Linked DNA regions of Homo sapiens: regions 1 and 2 are each linked to region 3. The links are contacts of gene promoters, found by promoter capture Hi-C in blood cells and fetal thymus (Javierre and others, 2016). All regions are on one chromosome and are shown on one strand. The core of a region is centred on a gene start or on the middle of the fragment in contact, and the rest is flanking DNA. Distances in the headings are between cores, read along the strand shown.

Region 1 (4,434 bases), core at 984-3,483, 570 kb after region 3:
CCAGGCTTGGCCAATCAGAATCTTTCCTAAGATTGTTAAATTAAGTTTAATAATTGTTAGATTGTTAAATTAAGTTTTAAATTAATTGTTAAATTAAATTTCCTAAAATTGTTAAATTGTCTCTGGTAGACATTCTAGAAACATATGTAACAGAGACAGACACACACACACAAACACATACACACACACACACAGAGGGAGAGAGATGAGAAAAGATATGAGGTGATAAGGAAGAGAAATGCAGAAAAATAGAGATATGCATAAAGAAACACAGAGATAGAAAAATGCAGATAAATAGTGACAATAAATTAGAAAAATAGAAAGGCACTGCAGTGAAAGAGACACAACAGGGGGACAGAGACAGAAAATGCAGAGAGATATGCAGAAAGAACTATACAGGGGCAAAGATACACGGAGAAAAGGAGACAGATGCCCAGATAGAAATACAACAGAAACAGAAGAGAGATGAAGATCTTATTGAATATCTGGAACTAGTTGCTTCTGTAATCAACTTGACCTTAGGCTTCCTTGTACCATGAACAAAATATATTTGGTTTTCTATCATTTAGAACCAAAAATAGTACTTTTATTGCTGGTTATGCTTTCTTAACAATAAAAATTATTCTCAATTTTAAAAAAAGGTCACTCTTGTGAGGGCCTGTTAGTCTCTGATCAGGATGTTTGCTGCATGTTTTCCCCAGAAAGATGCAGTAGTACTGCTATAGGTATCATCTGTACTCACTCATGGATTTTGCTCCCCCGACGTCTTAGCACATCCTCTACAATTATGACATGGGTTTTTATCCCAGTGCTCACCAGCTTGCTATCATAACACATAATTTGGAAGAATTTCTTGACATCTTTTGCTTAAAGCTAATTTTTTTTTAAACTGATGCATGCTTTCTGCTACCAGTTGCTTTTAGCCATCAAAAGGAGGCTTGGCGAATTTAAAACAGAGAGAGAGAGAGATGAATTATTCTTTTTTATTTGCTCATTTCCCGACAATTCTTGCTAATTTTAATGGGTTTTGATGTGCAAAAATGATCTCCTGAGAACAGTTCAATCATTGCAGAGCACATTAAAATAACAAGGCATTATGCCGTCTTGAGTCCCTAAGAGAGGCAGGTTTGGCAGGGCAAAAGTGCAAGAAAGACCTGCACATTACAGTGAGATTTTACTGGAGATGTGTGCATGTGAACTTCACTCAGGCTCAGGCAGCTGAAGGGAAGGAGATGAAATCTCAGTACCAAACCTGGCAGGCCAGATTGACATGAGGGCCATCTGGTTCCTCTCACGAATGTCAGGTAGCAGAATGAGCAGACAGCGAAAGCTCATTGCTGAGATCTAGTTCATTGTGAACTGATTTAGAGCTGCGGGAAAATTTTGCTTCTCTGAACCACACGGCAGAACATAACCTTCACACATCTCCCTCTGCCTTTAGCAAACTGGGCAGGGGAGTGGGTGCCTTGAAAACAATGACAGGACGGAAAGAGGAAGCGGTGTGGTTGACGTTTTACTTTTAAACACATTTTTAAAGAGTATAGCTTTACAAACCCCTCCACTGCCAACCCTCAAGTTCCACCTTCCACTCCTCTGTAAAACTGAGCTGGAAATAATTAAATCTAAAGCTAAAAATGAGAGGTGGGGAGACATGTTGTGTGTAAAAATATGGCTAAAGAAGCTTCGCTATTTCTTTGAATCCCTTGATACTTCTTTTATGCATATACTTACGAGTTGTTGGAGAGGAAAATATAATATAATATTTTATCTTCTAAATTAAAGAGTGTATTTTGCTGCCATTAAGATACCATGGGCTTTGCTTTATTGGATCATTAATTTGACTTTGAATGGTCAAAGGCTTATTCAGTAAGCATGTATCTTGCAACACACAAGAGGTATATATTAATGAAAGACTAAAACACACCCAGGAGTCTCTTACTGCCTTATTAAAACATTTATAAATGGGACTTTAAAGTGCTGCTAAAATGAAAATGAAATGTATTGATTCTCATGCCAGATGCTCTTTAGAAAATGCAGTGTGTGTTATTCCCACCTCAAATTATAACTTCAAATCTGACCTAGATATACTTAAAGATAATTCTCTGAAGACAAGATGTAGCAGATAAGGCAATTAAACCAAGTCATTCAGATTTCTAGGATGGCCTTTGTACACTAGGTGGCAGAGGCTTCTAAGAATATCTCTCTTATATAAAGTACCAGAGGTTTGTTTAGCTTTGCAAGCTCAAGCAAAACATTCATGAAAATGTTCTTCTTCAGCAGTGGACTAAGATTCTCCTTTTTACAAATAAGTGGAAAAATTTAAACAGCATGTTTTGTTCTGTGTGAACCTTCAACAATGCAATACTTTTTTTTTTTAAATTTTTTGGAGACCAAGTCTTGTCTCTGTCACCCAGACTGGAGTGCAGTGGTGTGATCTCAGCTCACTGCAACCTCCACCTCCTGGATTCAAGCAATTCTTGTGCCTCAGCTTCCCGAGTGGCTGGGACTACAGGCGCCCGCCACCACGCCCGGCTAATTTTTTGTGTTTTAGTAGAGACTGGGTTTCACCATGTTGCCCAGGCTGGTCTCGAACTCCTGAGCTCAGACAATCCACCCGCTTCGGCCTCCCAAAGTGGTAGGATTACAGTCATGAGCCACCACACCTGGCCAAATGCAGTATATTTTTTGTTTAGTGAATTTATTTTTTCATAGAATAGCAGAATAGGGTTTTGATAGTGTTAATTTTTAATTTAATTCAACTTTACTTTGGTTTAATTCATTTTTAAAAGCTTTTTTACTTTAACACAATAAAAAAATTCTTAAATGGCATGATTCAAATGAATGCATGGCGGGGGGGTGATGCCTCACATTCTTACAACACCTCTTTATTTTCGAAAGACCTTTCACATGCATTTTTAAATTTGATCCTTAAAATAACACTGTACTGTATTAGCACAATTTTACAGGACAGGAAATAAATTTCAGACAAGGTGAGTAACTTCTCCAACATTAAGTAATAAAGTGCTACTGTGTTTTTCCTTTCTGTTGGAGCACAAGAACATTCAATAGAATTTTCACTGAAGACGAGCTGTAAGTATATTAGTGGGAGTGGGAAGTGGAAGTGTCATCTATTTTTTAAAAGGTGGCAGATCTACAATATTTAGCAAGAAACAGGGAGAAGGAAAAGCCAAAACAAATGAACTGATTTATTTAAAAACATTATCAGCATTACCCTGAAAATTATCAAAATCTTATATGCTATATCAATATATTTTTGGAACCATTTTATGGAAGTATCCTTAATAGAGTTTTAATGCATTTAATGCATGCTGTTTTTTTCAGGTGTCCAAAGAGAAGTGCGCCTTTTGCAATAGATCGATATTTCTCTAAGCCTGTTTCCCACACCAACTAATATCAGATTCACTACAGTTTCTTAAGAATAGACTTCTAGCTCCTACTCCCAACCAAATTAATCACAGTTTTTGGGAACTAACCCAGGTATCTTCATTTTCAACCAGCATCTAAGACTTGGCTAGTAAGTTGTGAGAATCAACAGATTTTACTTTTTTTGATATGATATAGATGCAGGCAGAAATATCTAAATAGGTTTATAATCACGCCAAATCTTTTTTTTTCAATTATCATAAATTACCACAAAAATTTTGTTCCATGTGAAAAGATTACCTAATGAATGAATAAGTAACTTGGAACTTTAAATAAAGAAAATGGACAGACACTCATTCACACACGTACATAGAGGAGGCACATTGCAGTAAAAGAATTTCTTTTCTAGATTAATGGTTGTAAATGACCCCAATCAAATATTAGTTAATAAGGCAACAACGTCCTTTGAAAAATAATTTGAGAAATAACAACAATTTTGTTTCTGCTACTAATTTTTACCTCTGGTTGCTAAATGATCTAACAACTACCCATTGTTCTCTCTGTGTTTTTTTTTTCTAGTGTAAATTTGGTAGACTTAATTACAGGTGATAATAGTAGCATTTTTGAGGAATGACAATCTGTTGTGCATTTTCATGCATAATTATAAAAGCACTCTTGACAAATGAATTGATCACCTACACAAAATAGGCATGGGTGTAAATGCAGGTCAGTCAAATGGAAGATCAATCATGTTAAGCAATATTTTCCAACAGTTCTTTTGAGAGCTATTCGGAGAAACAACAAGGAAAATAAGTTTTAAATAATCTTGGAGATGCTATATTTTAAAACATACTAAGAACATTTTTTTGTTTGTTTTTAACTGCAAGATTTCTTAAAGCAATGAACAGACCAATGTGCAGTGAATTTCTTGGAGGCAACTGTATAGTTCACTGTTGAATGTATTTGGCAACAAGACATTTTTGCAGTTATCTTGTGGGACTAGGTTAATGTCGGATGGATTCAGAAAATCTGAATTTAAGAGTATACAGC
Region 2 (4,956 bases), core at 479-2,978, 550 kb after region 3:
TCTGGGTAGATATTAATTTTATTCCAGTCGATTTAACAAGTTGTAAACTGGGGAGTGGGAGGAATAAAGCAGGAAAAAGTCATCCCACTTAAAATTACCTATTTGATTAGGATGTCAGAGAGTAGCTGATTCACTATGCTATGGTTATAGCCATATATGATTTTTAGTTTAATTTTTGAATTCAAAGGTTGGCAATAACCAGATCAGAAAATGTATCGTATGTTGCCGAACATTCGGAAGTTGCTTTCACCTCACACTGCTCTACCGAAACTTCTTTGTTTAATGTCACCAGTGACCTCTGCATTGCTAAGCCCAGTGGTGGTTACTTGAGTATCTTTTTATTTGGCCTAGCAGCAGCATTTGACACTTTTTATTTCTCCCTGTTGTTTGGTACATTTCTTCTCGTGGCTGCACGGATTCCACATTCTCTTGGTTGTGATTCTTTCTCACTGGTCATCTTTCCTAACCTCCATTGTTAATTTCTCCCCTTCTCTCCGCCATCTTTAATATTGGTACACCTGAGAGCCCAGGCTCTGGTTCCGTTCTCTTCTCTTAGAAACCCTTTGAAGCAGGCTTTCTAAACCATGGCTCTGCTGACATTTTGGGTCAGACAATTCTTTATATGTGGGGCTATCCTGTGCATTGTAGGATGTTCAGCAGCATCCCTGGTCTCTAATAGCCTCTACCTATTAGATGCCACTAGTAATTCATTCCCCAACTGTGACAACCAAAAATGTCTTCAGACATTGCCAGCTGTACCCTGGGGAGAAATAATTGCCTTCAGCTGAAAACCACTGACGTACTCTTTGCAATCTTGAGGATATCATTCAGACTTATGCCTTTAAATACATCAATATGATATTGATTAACATATTTATTTTATGAACCCAGTCTTTCACAAATTTCAGGCTTGTATATCCAACTGCTTACTTGGCATATTCAGCTCAATGTCTATAAATATCTGAAACTTCAGATGTTCAAAACAAAACTGATCTTCTCTCCTAAACCCTTGATCTCAGTCATTAACACATTTTTATGCTAATTCCAGCTTTCTGTTCCCCAGACTCAAAATCTTGTCTTCAATCTTGACTTTTCACCTTATCCACATTCCACATTAATCTGCATTCAGCCCATCTGCACAGATCTTCTAAATACATTCAAAATGCAGCCATCTTTCACCCGGGTGTGGTACACTATCATCTCCCTCTGGGATTTCTGAATCTTTTGCTGAGATTCCATCGTTAATTCCAACCGCTCTCCCTACTTCCACCCTTGCTTCTCTGCTCCTCCCCCTGCCCTGCATAATCTGTTCCTAACAAAGCGGAAATCTGTTTCAGGTCCATCACCCTCTGCTACAATGATTCAAAGTCATTTTCTTCCTGCCTGCCTGCCTGCCTGCCTGCCTGCCTTCCTTTCTTCCTTTCCTGACCGGAAATCTGTGTCAGGTCCATCACCCTCTACTACAATAATTCAAAGTCAGTTCCTTCCTTCCTTCCTTCTTTTCTTTCTTTTCTTTCTTTTTTCTTGACAGAGTCTCGCTTTGTCATCCAGGCTGGAGTGCAGTGGTATGATCTCGGCCCACCACAACCTCTGCCTCCTGGGTTCAAGCGATTCTTCTGCCTCAGCCTCCTGAGTAGCTGGGATTACAGGCGCCCGCCACCATGCCTGGCTAGTTTTTGTATTTTTAGTAGAGACAGGGTTTCACCATGTTGGTCAGGCTGGTCTCGAACTCCTGACCTTGTGATGCACCTGCCTTGGCCTCCCAGAGTGCTGGGATTACAGGCATGAACCACCCCAATCCTGGCCCCAAAGTTTTTGTATTTCTCAGAATGAACTTGAAAGCCTTAGGATGGCCTAATAAGTCCTGCAGTACTTAGTTCCCAGTGACCTCTCTGAGCTTCCCTCCTGCTCTCCCTTCCTTACTCGCTTTGCTTTTTTGCTACCTGTACATCTTTTTGAGAGTGCCTATTTGATTTTTTAATGAGGTTTTTATTGATTATTGAAAGGTTTTTATATACATTAAATATGTGTTTAAAAAACCATTTCTCTAGGTTTGTGGCTTGTCTTTTCACTTTGTGTATGTGTTGTGTTTTTCATATCGTGATTAAGAATTTTTACCATACCAATGATCATAAATATTTCTCCTATACCTTTTTTTTTTTAAATCTTTTTTTTGAGACCGAGTTTCGCTCTTGTTGCCCAGGCTGAAGTGCAGTGGCGCGATCTCGGCTCACCGCAATCTCTGCCTCCCGGGTTCAAGCGATTCTTCTGCCTCAGCCTTCCTGAGTAGCTGGGATTACAGGCATGTGCCACCACGCCCAGCTAATTTTATATTTTTAGTAGAGACAGAGTTTCTCCATGTTGGTTATTTCTCCTATATCTTATTCTGGAAATTTTTCTTCTTTAAACTATAATATTTATGTCAAAAATCCCTTTCAAATTATGTGTTATATACAATGCGAATTAAGGATTGAAGTTCATTTGCTTTTACATTTGATTATTTCATTGCTTGGGGGAGAATTGATCTCTTAATAATGTTGGGTCTTTTGTTTTATTTTTTCTTTTTTTTGAGACGGAGTCTCGCTCTGTCACCCAGGCTGGAGTGCAGTGGCGCGATCTCGGCTCACTGCAAACTCTGCCTCCCGGGTTCGCGCCATTCTCCTGCCTCAGCCTCCCGAGTAGCTGGGACTACAGGCACCCGCCGCCACGCCCGGCTAATTTTTCGTATTTTTAGTAGAGACAGGGTTTTGCCGTGTTAGGCAGGATGGTCTCGATCTCCTGACCTCGCGATCTGCCCACCTCGGCCTCCCAAAGTGCTGGGATTACAGGCGTGAGCCACCGTGCCCGGCCAATATTGGGTCTTTCAATCTATAAATGCTTCTCCATTTACTAGGGTTTTCATCATTCTTTCTTAGCAATGTTTTGAAGTTTTCAGTCCTCAGGTCTGGCACATCTTTTGTTACATTTATCCATAAGTGTTTCTCTTTTTTTTTTTTTGAGGCTATTGCAAATGGTACAATTACTTTTATTTCAATTTCCAATGTTCATTAGTAGTGTATAGAAATATGACTAATGTGTTTATGTTGATCCTACAAAATTGCTAAAGTTTCTAATTAGTTTTAATGTCTCCTTTTTAGATTCTATAGGATTTTCTATGTAGACAATCATATTGTCTGTAAATACAGTTTTGCATTTGCTGTCTACTCTGAATAGCATTTATTAATTTTTCTTGTTATTTTGAACTATTTAGAACATCAACTAAATGTTGAATAGAAGTGTTTAGAGTTGACATTTTTGTCTGACTTTTGATTTTAAGGGGAAATCATTTAGTTTTTAATCTCTAGCTGCAATGTCATATATGTGGTCTCATATGAGCCTTTTATGAGATTCTTAGTCTGCTTAGAGTTTTTATTATGAATAGATTTGGGATTTTTTCAAATGCTTTCTCTGTATCTGAGGTGATCATATGTTTTTAAAATTTGTTAATATGATGAATTACATTGATTGGTTTATGAATGAACCAACTTTGCATTCCTAGGATAAATGCCACTTGATTTTGATGTCAACATTTAAATAATATACTCAGCGCTAAAGAAAGTAGGGGGAGAAATAAGTTCTCCAACACTGCTGATTGGGATGTAAAGAGGCAAGACATTTTTGTAAGACAGTTTTGCCTATGTATCAAATGGCTTACACATATTGGCATCATCTCATCCAGCAATTCTGTTTCAAGAAATTGTAAGGGGAAAAATCAACTGTGAATAAATATTTATAAACATGTATATTTATGTAGAATTTTGGAAAACAGAGATGTAATTTTTCAATAACAGAAGAGGGCTTAAATAAGTGACAGAGAAATGTTATTAACATTCTATCATTTTGTAATGATAAATTAAATGTAAATTAAATGACAGTACTTACATTTAAAATCACATGTATAATATGATCCTCTTTATATAATAAGCATGCATATATTTATGCATAAAAGGAACACTGAAGAATTTACCAGCTAATTTTAACCATTTTTATCTCCTGAGGGTGAGAGCTTTTTTTTAAAGCTATAATTTCTAATCTGTATTTGTACGTTTCAATTCTTTCCAATAAAAATGCATGCCTTAGACTACTTGGCCTGCTATAACAAAGTATCATTGACTGGGTGACTTAAAACAACAAATGTTTATTTCTCACAGTTTTGGAAGCAGGGCAGTCCAAGAACAGGGTGCTGACATGTTTAGTCTGTAGTGAGGGCCTTCTTCCTGGTTTGCAGAAGGCTGCCTTCTTGCCGTATCCTAACATGGGCACGACAGATTGATGTCTAATTTCTTCCTCTTTTTATAAGGACATTAATCCCATCACGAGGGACACACTCTCATGACCTAATCTAACCCTAATTACTTCCCTAAGTCCTCCTTTAAGTCCATCAGTTTGGGGATTAGGGCTTCAACAAATGAATATTGGGGAGACATAAACATTCAAACTGTAGCAATGCATTTTTTTTTGCATTGGGAAAAAAATAAACAGAAAAAAATAGTTTTTCAATGTAGCTAATTTGGATCAATTCATCTCCCATTTTGGTAACTGTTTTGCTGCATAATCCTTGATGGGGAATCCAGAATTATCCTATAACTTTACTTTACATTATTTTGCTACTTGCTAAAAACAGTGATATACATACACTATTATTCAAAAGATATCATTTTTGAGGTCTTTCTGGATTTTTAAAATTTGTCATAACTAAGAGAGGAAAATTTCTGAGAAAATGTTATTGAAGATCAAGAAATTGTGAAGTGTGTAGGTAGAAGTGGCTGGGCCTTGTTTATTAGGTTTCAGAATATTGCACCAGTGGTAACACTTAAATATTCAAAACAATGCATTTGGGGGCAATAAAAGGAAACTTTGTGTTACACAGTGTGTTGTTAACTTTTAAATATTAATAGCTTTTATTCTATGATACAG
Region 3 (4,372 bases), core at 1,727-4,226:
ATTTAAGAGCAAGAGACTAAGAGATGTACTCAACTTAGTACTCAACTAAGTTACCCTGGAGTATTACATAGCTATGTAGAAGTTGGTTAGATTGATTTTGTTTTCCATTTGTATGCAGTGGTCCAAAATAGAAAGCAAAGGTGTACACAAAATTGGTTTCTGAAGGTGGACAACTGGTCTTTACATGGCTAGGAGTCTATTATGATTTTTTTTTCCTTTGATCATTTCGGTTACTCTCTCCTTGGGGCACAAATGCACCATGGGATATGAGAACAAGAAGGCTTCAGGAAAGTCAATCAATCTTGTCTCATGTAATGGTTAAGCACCAAAAATGGTGTCCTAGCAAGACTAAATACAAACAGTACTTCAGAATCTGAGAAATGGAAGGAACTTAGAGATGACCAATCCAAACCAAAATTAAGGAACAATCTGCCCAACATCCCTCCCTCCAGCTTTGGCTGAAAACATGATGATGAAGGGATAAGACCAACTCGACAAAAGAAAAAGCCTAAAATTTTAACAGAATGTGTTACAATACTATCTTAAATTTTTTAAAGTCTTGTATTATTCTTTCTTTTAATGATATACCATCATGACCAGGCGCAGTGGGTCACACCTGTAATCCATATCCCAGCACCTTGGGAGGCCGAGGCGGGTGGATCACCTGAGGTCAGGAGTTCGAGACCAGCCTGACCAACATGGTGAAACCCCATCTCTATTAAAAATACAAAATTAGCCGGGCAAGGTGGCTCATGCCTGTAATCCCAGCTACTTGGGAGGCTGAGGCAGGAGAATCACTTGAACCCGGGAGGCGGAGGTTGCAGCAAGCCAAGATCATGCCATTGCACTCCAGCCTGGGCAACAAGAGTAAAACTCCGTCTCAAAAAAAAAAAAAAAATATATACCATCATTTCACCCAATTTAATTCAACAGAGATTAACAAAACAGAAGCACCTTCACTCACTCAATTCAACTTAAAGACACTTATTAGTAAAGTCCTGTGCGCCAGACACCATAGTTAACACCAAATGTACCATTACTACAATTACTCTTAAAGCACGATCCCTGCAGCTAAGGAATATCTACTTTGTTCTCAATAAAGTGGTAACTGGTTCACGAAAAAGTAAGAGATAAAATACTGTTGACTCAAGGGCAGCTTGATATAAATCCCAGCTCTGCCACTAGCTGTGAAAGCTTAGGCAAGTCAGTTAACCTGTAAAAATAAAGATTACTCTCTATATATGGATATATAAATAATATATAACATTGTAGTTAATATATAATTACATACTATTATATTACATAATTCTACATTACATATATATTATATATATATAATAGAGTTATAAGAACAAAATGTGATATATAGTGGGCACTAGGTTGGTCTTAGTTTCTGTCATTTACCTTAGTTTCTGTCAGTTTACACGAGGTAAACTGACCCTAAAAATGTTTTTATATCTCATTCAAGTTTTGCCTATTACCTATCTTAATCCTAACAAGATTTAAGTTTGTTACATTTAAATTTAAGTTTTATACTTTTTTTTCCAGCTCTGTATTGCTGTATACAACTACTCTCTTTAGGGATATCTTATCTGCTATGCCCTCAAGATATTGTAAATACTTCAGTAAGAGCAAATTTTGCCTCATGCAAAAAAGAATTTTTTAAATCAGTGTGCATAAGAATGCAGAATATAAAGATGGTCTTGTCCTACAGATGTTAAGGTAACAGAACAACTCATAAAAAGACAGTCCTCTAACTCCTTTAGCTGAGATATGGTTAGCTTTGCCCCCATATATATCATCCCCTGCTCCAATCTCCAAAAACTTCCTTCTATGAATGTGTCAATAAGACTGATGATATTGCTATTAAAACTCAGAACTTGACTGCTCATTTATAAATTGAAAATTCAAAACGACAAAGCCCAGTGCTCGCTGATTTCTACACATACAGGCATAATAAAAGAGAACTACGCTATTACAAAGAACTATGCATCTGGTCCCGCCCCCAAATACTAGAGTCCAGTCGTAGGGGTCATTCTTTCACTCAACAAACTTTTTATTATGCGCCTACTGTGTACTAGGCATTGCACAGACAGTTAACAAAACAGACCAAAAAATCCTTTCCCTCCTAATAACAGGAGCGTGCCCGTAAAGGCTGCCGAGGGACCACGTCGTGGCCGCGCCTCCGTCCCATAGTGGTACTCGTACAGACAGCCCAGCCGGCCCACGGGCCGCCGAGACTTGCAGCCCTGACACACGGCCTTGGCCTCTGGGTTCCTAACCCGGACCCTGGGGCAGGCTGGGAAGCCCTCCTACCCCCACTGTCTCGCGCCAGCCCGGCCAGGAGGCCACGAGGGCCAAGCGCATACCCAGGCGCGCCCCCGCCACCAGGCGCGCCCCCGCGCCACCATCCGCCCGTCCCGCGCAGGCGCCGGCGCCGCCGCCCGTCTGGCGCGCGCCTGGCACGCTCTCTTGCGGCTCTTGACTGGCGGCCTCGGCCCCACTTGCCCCAGTTACACGCGGTCCCAGCCCCACCAGCCGTCGCCTCTTACCGGCGCGCTGGCCCCTGCGCCCCAGCCTCCCGGCTCCCGGCGGCTGCCTCGCGGGGCGCCTCCTCCTCCTCGGCCTCCGCGAGCGCCGCGGAAGCCCCGGCCACGGCCACGGCCCCGGCGTCCGCCTCCGTCCCCGCCGCCGCCTCCGCCGCCGCCTCTGGCTACCGCCGCTGCGGCTCCGGGCCGCTCGCTGTGGCGATCTCCGCCAGGCCGGCCGCGGCCTGGCCGCCGCCCACGGCCTCCCCGAGCTCCTCGCTCCGCCTGCATCTGGCCGCCGCTGGCGGTGCTGAGCGCGCGGGAGCCGAGCTGCGGCGGAGACGCCCTGGCCCCACCGGAAGCGGGCCGCACGGAGGAGCCGCGAGCGAAAGGCGCCCGGTAGCAGCGAGGCGCGGGGTGCGGGGCTAGGGATCGAGGCCGGCCGCAGCGGAGCGGGGCGGGGCGGGGCGGCCGGCGTCCCGCAGGTGGGGCCGGAACCGGGACCGCGGGAAGGCCGGACCGCTGGGAGCTGGAAGTGGTGGGGGTCTGCAGCGGGGCGGGGGGATTCTCAAGGCATCAGAGATAGGTTGGGGGAGAGACCGTGCTAAGTGCAAGGACGAGTCATAAAATAAAATTTGTATGATGTGAACTCTCGGAAAAAAAAAGTTTAAACGTATGTATTTGCATAAGAAAAGGTCTAAACAAATACATACTAAAATGTTAGTGGTTAACTGCTGAGATTTGAAGTGAGTTAATTTTTTTTCCTCCGTTTAATCTAATTTTCAGCAACGAATGTGTATCATTTTAAAACTATACCGAAGTCAGGGTTCAGGAGGTGTGGATGTAAAGACAAGAGTTTGTGTCTGGTGAGAGGTGGACTGCAGCACGTGGGAGAGAGAACAGTGCGAAACTGGGAGATGGCTAGAAAGGGCGTCAAAGTCCTCAGCAGAATTTCTGTAGAAATGACTACTACAGCTGACATTTATTGAGCACATGAGTATTTCATTCTCATAACAGCTCTATGAGGTAGGGATGACTGTCATCCTTATTCTGCAGTGAGGTAACAGCCTTGGAAAGGTTAAAAAAAACTTGACTAAAGTGAATAACTAGGTAGTGGTGGAACTGGCATTCTAAGGCGGTCTCACTCCAGTCCCTTCTTTCAACCAAGGAGAAAACAGGAAGGGGAACAGTTGGTTACACAGATGCATGAAAGCAGTTTTTAACTTGGGACTGAAACCACCTGAAAATAATGAAAGCAAGGGCTAAAATGTCAGCCTAGCAGAATAAGTGTTTTCTTCCCCCTCAGTACTTTCTGGTTCTTTCCTATATCCATACATAGTTAATACTTTTCATTGCTTCTAATTGCCTACTCTGCATCAGGCACAGTGCTATGTCCTGAAATTAAAAACAAAAACAAAAAAAAAACCTTGCCCCTGCCCTCAAGTAGCTCACTGCCCACAAGGAAGATAATCTAGTCGTGTGAATAGATGATTACAGTACCGTGTTGCTGAGTGCAGTGAGAGATTCAAGATCAAGGTCCAAAGAAGAAAAGTTAAATTATATTTAAACGGGTTACCCAAGGCTTCATGAGAAATAGACCCCTGAGCTAAAGCCTAATGGTTGAGTAGGAGTTTGCCTGGTTGGTAAATGGGAGTAGGGGCGCCTTCCAGACAGGGGGAACTATTGAAGGATTGTCAACTCCAGAGAAACAGTCTTAAAAATAGTAACACTTGTAGAGCACTTATATGCACCAAACACTATTCTACATACTTCTCATATCACTTCATTTGGGACTAATAGCTGGCCTACGAGGTAAGCTAGTGTTGTCTCCATTTTACAGATCA

Evidence for each region. The method cuts DNA at HindIII sites, captures the fragments that hold promoters and counts their contacts. A CHiCAGO score of 5 or more calls a contact.
Region 1: a contact is called between a fragment that was not itself captured here and the fragment with the promoter of AVEN in region 3, in 2 of 17 cell types (total CD4 T cells and naive CD8 T cells). The highest score is 5.5, in total CD4 T cells.
Region 2: a fragment that was not itself captured here is called in contact with the fragment with the promoter of AVEN in region 3 in 9 of 17 cell types (fetal thymus, activated CD4 T cells, total CD8 T cells and 6 more); the score reaches 11.2 in fetal thymus.

Annotation. Positions count from the first base shown.
Region 1 is chr15:34,608,465-34,612,898 of GRCh38, forward strand. No RefSeq gene overlaps it. Among named protein-coding and RNA genes, the nearest start is that of GOLGA8B, 27 kb to the left of the region's middle. The HindIII fragment of the contact is 1,108 bases long and covers 1,680-2,787 here.
Region 2 is chr15:34,590,254-34,595,209 of GRCh38, forward strand. No RefSeq gene overlaps it. Among named protein-coding and RNA genes, the nearest start is that of GOLGA8B, 9.1 kb to the left of the region's middle. The HindIII fragment of the contact is 8,309 bases long and covers 1-4,956 here.
Region 3 is chr15:34,036,228-34,040,599 of GRCh38, forward strand. AVEN (apoptosis and caspase activation inhibitor) reads right to left here and starts at 2,977. Exons shown (of 6, transcript NM_020371.3): 1 at 2,553-2,977. The coding sequence starts at 2,819. The region is part of intron 1 of CHRM5 (cholinergic receptor muscarinic 5); the gene reads left to right. RefSeq lists silencers at 1,950-2,009, 2,360-2,419, 2,510-2,719, 2,900-3,069. The HindIII fragment of the contact is 8,272 bases long and covers 1,193-4,372 here.